3 separate regions of the Homo sapiens genome follow, and regions 2 and 3 are each linked to region 1. The links are contacts of gene promoters, found by promoter capture Hi-C in human tissues and cell types (Jung and others, 2019). All regions are on one chromosome and are shown on one strand. Each heading gives the region's core, a stretch centred on a gene start or on the middle of the fragment in contact. The rest is flanking DNA. Distances are from core to core; before and after follow the strand shown. Region 1 holds the start of COL6A2 (collagen type VI alpha 2 chain). Region 2 holds the start of FTCD (formimidoyltransferase cyclodeaminase). Region 3 has its middle 48 kb from the start of COL6A2-DT.

Region 1 (2,880 bases), core at 194-2,693:
GGCCACAGGAGGCAGCAACTCAACGTGCAGGGCCGTGTTTAAGAGAAAGCATCTCACCGGGCCTTTCTTTCCTTTTTTTTTTTTTTTTTTTTTTTTTTTGAGACAGTCTCGCTCCCTCACCCAGGCTGGAGTGCAGTGGCGCGATCTCAGCTCACTGCAGCCTCCGCCTCCCAGGTTCAAGTGATTTTCTCCTGCCTCAGCCTCCCGATTAGCTGGGATTACAGGTGCCTGCCACCACGCCCGGCTAATTTTTTTTTGTATTTTTAGTAGAGACGGGGTTTCACCCTGTTGGCCAGGCTGGTCTCGAACTCCTGACCTCAGGTGATCTGCCCGCCTCGGCCTCCCCAAGTGTTGGGATTACAGGCGTGAGCCACCGTGCCCGGTCTGGCCTTTCTTGAAATAATCACCAGAGTCGAAGTGCAAGGGGGCCTCCAAGCCAGAGCTGTGTTATCCCAAGAACAAGGAGCTCCGCGGATCGCAGGCCCCTCCTTTCTGGGTTCCGACCCCAAAGGGAAGGTCCCTTCTCCAGGGGCGTCCTAGGCGCGGGCACCGGGGTTCTGCTGGCACAGCCCGGATGGGCGCCGCTCGCCCGCACACCTGCGGCTCCACAGAGGGCCGATCCGTTCGGTTGCCAGCAGTGGAGACCCAGGCCCAGCGGTTCCACCAGCGCCCCGGCGGAGTCCCAGGGCGGGTGTGGGCGGCCCGGCAGGGGCTGCGGGTCGCTGTCAGCCCGGGTCCCGCCGCCCTGGGGAGCCGCCTCCGTCTGCAGCTTCTCCTGGGCCTGGCGGGGCCCTGGTGGGCTCCAGGCCGGGAGGGGCGCAGCGATGGGGCGTCGGGGCCACCCGCGTCCCCTCCCCGCCCAGTCCCGCCCTCGGGCACCGAAAGCCCCTCCTCCCCCCGCCCCGCCGCCCCTTCCGTCCGGCCCGGGGAGAGGCCCTGCGCCCCCGGAGGTCCCAGCCAGCCGGGGCGTCTTCCCCGCGGGCCGGAGCCGGACCCGAACCGCTCGCAGACGCGGGGCCTGGCGGGGCGTGCGGTGCCGGGGTCGTCTCGGGAGCGGGGGTCCCAGCACCGAGCTCGGGCGCAGACAGGGACCCCCCCACCCCGCCCAGGCCGGCTCCGCCCCAGAGGAGGCCGCGGGGAGGTGGCCCCAAGTCGCGCGCCCGAGGGTCGGACCCAGAGACGCGGAGCCACAGGGGCAGGCGCGGCCCCAGCCCCGCGAGGAGGAGCCCCGAACCCGCCGAGCCCCCCGCCGTCCCTGGGGCTGGAGTCCCCCTTCCCGGGGACCCGAGGGACGGAGCCGCCGCCGCCGCCTTCCCAGGACTCGGGGTCACCCCCCGCGGGCCGAGCGGCTTCCAGGGTGCGGGGTCCGGGAGGCGCTCACCTGGTCCCGAGGAGGCTCCGCTCCCGACGGCCCGAGGCGCGGGCGCCGAGTAAGCAGCAGGGAGGGAACCGCGGCCGGCGCCGCCCCCTTTATACCCCGCCCCGCCGGCCTGACCCGCCCCGCCGCCAGGAAGCGCTGCGGCCCCGCGGATGGGAGGAGGGGGCCGGGGGCACGGGAGGGGGATGGGAGGGAAGCGGGGACCCTCGAGGGCGGGAGGCTGGAGGAGGTGGAGAGGGTGGGGACCCCCCTGCAGCCCGGGCCGAGCTCCCCCGCCAGCCCCTGCCCGCTGCTGCTCGGACTTCGCGTCCCGGGCCCGGCCGCCCGTCGCCCCCGCCCCATTTCCCGGACGACCTGGCTGGGGCTGTGTCCGCCTCCGGGGCCCTGGGTGTTGGGGACCGCGCCCCGCACGCAGGGCCGACGGGGGCCCTGGGACTCGCCCCTTGGTAGCAGCTGCCCTGGGGGGTGCAGGGTTCCCCCCATCAGCCCCCCGACCCCTCCCCTACCCCGTGTCCTGTGTCCGGCTTGCTCAGGCCTCCCGCGAGAGGCCCCGGGTCAGGAGCTCCTGCAGAAACTGCCGCTCCTGGGGCCTGAGGGTGGGGAGCCGGGAGGGCAGGGACAGCAGAGCCTGGGCGCGGAGGTTGGGGCAGAGCCTGGGCATGCGGCGAGCCACCCCTGCCACCCCTTTCCCGCTGGAAACCACAGGTGGGCTTGGTGCTGGGCCCTGGGACCACCGTGAGGTCCCCACCTGAGCCCAGCCGGGGACAGAGTGACAGGGGTCCCTGGTAGGGCTCTGTCTGGGGTCCCCACTCCCCACCCTGGTCACAGTCCCCCAGCCAGGGCCGGGGTTCCTCCTTGAGGTGAGGCGCAGCCGGGTTGGGGAGAGGTCCCTGGGCTCCGGGACAGGGCTCCCTTCAGAGCTGTCCTGGAAGGTGGCGGAGCGGCTGGGGGCGAGGTCCCTCTTCTGATGAGCAGGTTTGCAAATGTGGTGTGTGTGTGTGTCTGAGACTGAGTGTGTGTGGTGTGTGCATCTGAGTGTGTGGTGTGTGTCTGTGTCTGAGACTGAGTTTGAGTCTGTGGTGTGTGTATCTGTGTGTGGTGTGTGTCTGTGTCTGAGACTGTGTGCATCTGTGAGTGTGTGGTGTGTGTCTGCGTCTGAGGTTGAGTGTGAATGTGTGTGTCTAAGTGTGCCTGAGTGTGAGTGTATGTGCCTAAGTGTGCCTGAGTGTGGCAGCCACATGGTAGCCATGAGTCCAGGGCTCCTGCCTGCTGCTCCTGAGCACAGCTGACGGCGGGCACCGTGTGCCACTCCCCTGGGTCCATGCCGAACTCTCACCTGGGCAATGCCTCCTGCTTCCAAGCCAGCAGCTCCCAGGGGGAAGCCAGGCCCCTCCTCACAAGACCAGAATCCTTTAGGGGTTACCTTGGCTCCAGAAGTTCTCCCTCGGCCTGGCCAGCACTGTCTAGGGGCACGTGCTGGCCAAGGCTCCCCGTATCTCCTT
Region 2 (2,880 bases), core at 97-2,596, 57 kb before region 1:
CAAGAGGGTGTGTGCAGGGGAACTGCCCTTTATAAAACCATCGGATCTCGTGAGACCATTCACTATCACAAAAACAGCACCGGAAAAAGCCGCCCCCGTGATTCAGTGACCTCCCACCGGGTCCCTCCCATGACGTGGGAACTATGGGCTCTACAATTCAAGATGAGATTTAGGTGGGGACACAGCCAAACCATATCACCATGTCTACCAAAAATGGAAAAGTTAGCCAGTGTAGTGGTGTGTGCCTGTGGCCCAGATGCTCAGGAGGCTAAGGTGAAAGGACCTCTTGAGCCTGGGGACCAAGGCTGCAGGAAGCCATGATTGTGCCGCTGCACTCCAGCCTGGCTGACAGAGTGAGACTTTGTCTCAAAAAAAAAAAAAAGAGAAAATGATAAAAGCACTGCAAGTGGGCAGCGGCTGAACGTGGAGACAGGAGTTCTCCCTTCTGAGCACGGCCCTGGTGCCGCTGACTTCGTGGGGAGCCTGTAGTCAGGGGAGCAGCAGCTGGGGAGAGCTGGGGTCTCAGCTGCCTTCCCCCATATCGCACATGCCCGTCTCGTGTGTATCTGCACTCTCACACGCGTGTTCCCCTGCCCTGCGCTCACATGTATCTGCACTCACTCTCACATGCTTGCTTCCCCTGCCCCATGCTCACGTGTACCTGCACTCTCACACGTGTGCTCCCCTACCCCACACTCACATGTATCCTCGCTCACTCTCACACGTGTTCCCCTGTCCTGTGCTCACATGTATCCACGCTCTCACACATGTGCTCCCCTGCCTTGTGCTCACGTGTATCTGCACTCTCACGTGTTCCCCTGCCCTGCCCTCACGTGTATCCTCACTCACTCTCACACGCGTGCTCCCCTGCACTCTCCTGTCTGAGCTGAGCTGACCTCAGTTGGGTGCTGCGAGCCAGGGCCTCATGCTGGCCTCTCGCCCTCCACAGCCCCAGGGGTCCAGGCTCCTCCAGGAACAAACGCAGGCCCCACGGGCTGCCTGGAAGGCCTCCCAGAAGGCAGCACAGGGTCACGAGGGTCACCCGCAGTGGCACAGGGAGGCCTCGTCACGACAGGATTCCAGCCAGGCTGGCCTGATGCTCCTGGGGGTCCTCGGCACATGCCCCTTCACCCTGGCATGTGCTTCTTTTCCGGGAACCCACACTCTGGCTGAGTGGAGCCATCCCCTCTGGGTCAACAGCACCCGGGGTGGCTCTGCAGCACCCCACTCCGCGGCTGCACAGGGACCTTGGCCCCACTGCTCCTTGTGCCTTGCTGGTTAATGAGAAGCCGGTGGGGAGGTGCTGCCGGTGAGCGTATAAAGGCCCTGGCGGCGGCTGCGGAGCACTGGCCCTGTCCTTCCATCTGCCCAGAGAGGAGCATCTGGATCAAGGTGCTGGCCATGTCCCAGCTGGTGGAATGCGTCCCCAACTTTTCGGAGGGGAAGAACCAGGAGGTGAGGCCCGAGGAGCTGGTCAAGCATCTAGGGCTGATGGGGCAGCTTGAGTGGCTAAGGCCCAGGCCATGGAGGAGGTGGTGGGCTTGGTGTCCCGGGTCGTCTTCCCAGGATGGGCAGAGCCGCTGCCCGTGGGCCCCAAGGACATCCCGTGGCTCAGGGCCCTGGGGAGTGCCTGACCCAGGGGTGGGTGGAACACGACTGGTGCTTGTGGGGGCTGAGGCTTGGCTGTGGCTTCAGGGGCCTTTCGGGTGCTTTCGGTGGGGGGTTGGGCAGATCTCTGGGCCTCAAAGGGCCTTGGTGCTCCCCCCTGAAAATGGGGCTCCTGCCACTGACTGAAAGGGCTGTGTGAGGCCACACGAGGTGGCCCAGCATGGTCCCCACTGCCGCCTCTCCATCTCCACTGGAGTTAGCTTGCTGAGCCCCCACCCTGCAGCCACCATCCTCACTGGACCCAAAACGAAGTAGGCACAGAGGGGGCAGCAGGCCCCCAGGTCCGGCCTCTCGCCTTCCACAGCCCTGAGGTCCAGGCTCCTCCGGGAACAAACGCAGGCCCTAAGGGCCACCTGGAAGGCCTCCCAGAGCGCAGCACCAGGCCACAGGGGTCACCCGCAGGGGTGCAGGGAGGCCTCGTCATGCCGGGATTCCAGCCAGCACCAAGGCCCTGGGACAGGGCAAGATTTGGGGCTGAGCCCCTGCTCCCAGCAGTCCTGCCACCCGGAAGGTTCTAGGCCCTTCAGGCCCCTCCCCCATGCTGGTGATCTGTCCCTCCCCTGCTCGGGGGTGGGGGTCCCGGCCCCTCTGTGACCTGCGCCTGTGGTCACCTTCTTGGATCCCCGGCCACGTCTCTGGCATCTGTCTGTCGGAGCAGAGCCCGTGAGTCTCTCCTGGAGGCACCACCTGCAGCCCCTTGTGGGGACTGTGCTTGGGCTGGAGTGACTGTGGCTGCTGTGAGGGTTCCCGGGCGGCCGCTGTGTGCGGGCACTTTCGGTGGGAGCTCAGCTTGTCGGAGAGCCCCCAAAGGCTTGGCCCGCCTCCTCAGCCCCCATTTGTGTCTCGGGGTGCAGCCACCTCCAAGCTCCTTTTCCTTCTTTCAAACGGGGAGACTGAGGTGTGGGGGCCGGGCCTGTGTCCCAGGTGATCGACGCCATCTCTGGAGCCATCACACAGACCCCGGGCTGCGTGCTGCTGGATGTGGACGCAGGCCCTTCCACCAACCGCACCGTGTACACCTTCGTGGGGCCGCCGGAGTGCGTGGTGGAGGGGGCCCTCAACGCTGCCCGGGTAGCTTCCCGACTTATCGACATGAGCAGGCACCAAGGTGAGGTCTCTGGGCTCTCCTGTGGCTGCCGTGTCTCAGAATGTCAGGGCCGAGCCCTGTCCTGGTGTCCTGGGAGAGGGGGTAGGCCCGGGGCCCAGGCTTGG
Region 3 (2,880 bases), core at 187-2,686, 48 kb after region 1:
GCATCGTGGGTTTTGTACTTGGAACATTCGTGAGAGCGAGAATGAGAAAGACGGATAATGTGTCAGTTTCATCATCAAAATAAGTTTGGCCTCACAGACCCCCCAGAGCATCTCAGGAACCTCTGCGGTCCCCAGACTGCATTTTGAGAACTGCCGTCCCAAGTTCTTGTGTCCCCTCCTCCCAGGCCAGCCAGCCCCGGGCGTGGGGGGTGCTCCAGGAGCCCACCGCGGTGTTTCAGTCTGGCCTGGAGTGGGGGCTACCGGTGAGGGATCTGCAGTATGGGGTCCTCCCCACGGGGTCCGCATGGCTCAGAGCAGCGCAGGGCTGGGCCAGCCTCTCGAGAACCCAGAGCCGGTCCAGGGCAGAGCCAGGAGCCGACTTGGGGCCTCGTCTGTGGGGGCCTCTCCCATCACAGCTGCCCAGGCCACCGTGCAGCCGCTGGGGACTGTCCAGCCTGGTGCTGGCAGGGTGGGGGCACAGGGCCAGACGCTTTGCTATGGGCTGACCACCAGTGACCACCGCAGCAAGTGGTCTGAAGTGGGCTGTGTGTGGAAATGGCTGTGCGCCCTGCAGAGGTCCCAGGTTCTCCACTCGCCCTCTAGTCCACACCAGACCCCTTGGGAGCTGCAGCAGCCACCCCACCTCGCAGCCTGCATGGCTCCCTGCCCAGCTCTGGATGGGGGACTGCAGGCCCTGGCCCCCTTCACTGTGCCTGGCGGCCCCTGCCCTGCTGTGCCTTGGCTGGGAAGAGCTTGTGCTTGTGGAGCAAAGTGGGGAGCGGTGTCTGCCTTCAACTGAGCATCGCCTGACCCCGGTCCATCTTATTTCCAAGCCTCAGGGGGTCTGATTCCAGAGCCGATGGGACCAGCCCAGTTCCGCACAAGCAGCTGTCGGCCTCGCCGTCCCCGTGCCACCTTGGAGGGCTGACAGTGTGTGTGACAGGGCTAGGCCCCTCTTTCCAGACCCCAGTGTCACCAGCCTGGCTCCCTGGGACAACGTGACGCCCCAATGAGAGAGGATGCCAAGGGCTGCCAGGGTGCGGCCAATGCTCCTGGCTTGTGGGTGACCTGGCCTCACTTCAGGGACCCAGCAGGGAAGCTGTCCACCAGCCGAGTTTGGAAAGCCTGCCCGGGATGGTCAGGGTGCCGTCCACTCGCCACTGTGCTCCGAGGACCCTCCCCAGAGAGCCCCGCTGTGGGCACAGTGAGTTCTGCGGTGGGCCCAGAGGATGGTTTCTCGATGGTGGGGGTCGCGGCGGCTGGAAGCCCTCCCGTACAAACACACTTCGTTCACTGGCCGCTTGGTGGAGGGTCCGCCATGAGGGCGCCGTTTCTTCACTCTCAGCCATGGGCTGTGCCTTGGAGCCCTGTCCTCCAGGTCAGACGCCCAGCGGACATTGGAGTGTTGACCTCCAGGGATGAGGGTGCCAGGTCCCAAGAGTCTGGGTCAGCTGCCGGGAGGTCTGGGGGTGCTGGGACCACAGCAGGATGGGAGCTGGCCAGGGGCCTGTCCCCCCGACCTCCTGTGTGTGGGACTTGGAAAGCTGACTGGGGCCTCCTATTCTTTAAAAAGAACCCAATCATCCATCACACCCCAGGAAGCCCTCTTCAAGCCCAGCAGGCATTTCCTGCTCAGGGCTGGGCTGTCTCCAGGTGTGCGTGCTGAGCGGAACGTTCTCCTGGCTGGAAAATGCGCGTGTTCACCTCATGCCTATGAACAACAGATCTATAGGAAGGGAAGAAGATCAATAAACAAATCCCCTCCCCCAGGAGGAAGCATTAGGCGATTACGCAAAGAACTGGTTTGATGAATTCCCTTGGAAGCAGTGGTACGCGTGTGTCATACGCTGTGGAATTGGCCTCCCCAGCCTCCTATTCAGCGTTCTCCTAACCCCCTGATAAGCAGCTGCAAAATGTGTCAGGCCAACGGGAGACAGGCCAAGTGTGGCCTCCGGCCCGTGTCTTCATCTTCTCAGGGCCTCTCCTAACTGTCCGGCGCATCTGCCTACATTTTCTCAGGAATTGGATCCGCAGATGTCTGGTTATGCAACTGCTTCCCATTTTCAGCCAGAGAAGTTACTCAAGTCGGTTTGGAGAGGAGCTTTGCACGGATTCGGCCAGCTGGGCTTAGTGAGAGGCCCTGGGGCTGTCTGGGACAGAGGAGGGAGGCAGTGCGAATGCCTCTTCCTGGCAACCGGAGCCAGGAAGCCTTTCCAGAGGCCACAGTCACCTTTTCCCAGGTGGTGCCGGAGGAGGAGGCCCTAACTGCTTTCGATGCAGGGGGCTGCCCCTTGAGCTGGGCCAACTGGGAGAAGGTGGACGGGGAGTTGGTCAGCAGGGTAGAGGGCATGGAGGGCGGTGGGTGCAGCTGTCAGGGACCACAAAGTTACAGCAAGCCCAGGAGGAGGTTAGAAAAGGAGGAGGGCTTTGAAGAATCATCTCTGGGGAGGTGCCGTTTACATACAGGAAGATGCACCCACTTAAAGTGTATAGCTTGATGAGTTCTGGCAAATTTATATAACTGTGTGACCATGAACACAATCAAGACAGAGAACATCCATCACTCCAAAAAGATCCCTCATATCATCAGTAACATCCATCACCCCAAAAAGATCCCTCATATCATCAGTAACATCCATCACCCCAAAAGACCCCTCATATCATCAGTAACATCCATCACCCCAAAAAGACCCTTCATATCATCAGTAACATCCATCACCCCAAAAAGACCCCTCATATCATCAGTAACATCCATCACCCCAAAAAGACCCCTCATATCATCAGTAACATCCACCACCCCAAAAAGACCCCTCATACCATCTGCAGCATCCATCACCCCAAAAAGACCCCTCATATCAGTAACACCCATGACCCCAAAAG

The links. Contacts are between HindIII fragments. The study calls those that stand out against the background at their distance.
Region 2: a contact is called between the fragment with the promoter of FTCD here and the fragment with the promoter of COL6A2 in region 1, in 4 of the 25 tissues and cell types used here (heart left ventricle, heart right ventricle, mesenchymal stem cells and 1 more).
Region 3: a fragment that was not itself captured here is called in contact with the fragment with the promoter of COL6A2 in region 1 in 6 of the 25 tissues and cell types used here (IMR-90 fibroblasts, aorta, heart left ventricle and 3 more).

What each region holds. Positions count from the first base shown.
Region 1 is chr21:46,096,675-46,099,554 of GRCh38, reverse strand. It overlaps COL6A2 (collagen type VI alpha 2 chain), which reads right to left and starts at 1,443. Exons shown (of 28, transcript NM_001849.4): 1 at 1,382-1,443. It overlaps COL6A2-DT (COL6A2 divergent transcript), which reads left to right and starts at 1,910. Exons shown (of 2, transcript NR_186433.1): 1 at 1,910-2,083. RefSeq lists an enhancer at 1,326-1,620. The HindIII fragment of the contact is 26,496 bases long and covers 1-2,880 here.
Region 2 is chr21:46,154,045-46,156,924 of GRCh38, reverse strand. It overlaps FTCD (formimidoyltransferase cyclodeaminase), which reads left to right and starts at 1,346. Exons shown (of 14, transcript NM_206965.2): 1 at 1,346-1,455; 2 at 2,593-2,776. The coding sequence starts at 1,402. RefSeq lists enhancers at 1,573-2,276, 2,277-2,880. The HindIII fragment of the contact is 26,017 bases long and covers 1-2,880 here.
Region 3 is chr21:46,048,559-46,051,438 of GRCh38, reverse strand. No RefSeq gene overlaps it. Among named protein-coding and RNA genes, the nearest start is that of COL6A2-DT, 48 kb to the left of the region's middle. RefSeq lists enhancers at 705-1,415, 1,416-2,126. The HindIII fragment of the contact is 3,563 bases long and covers 1-2,880 here.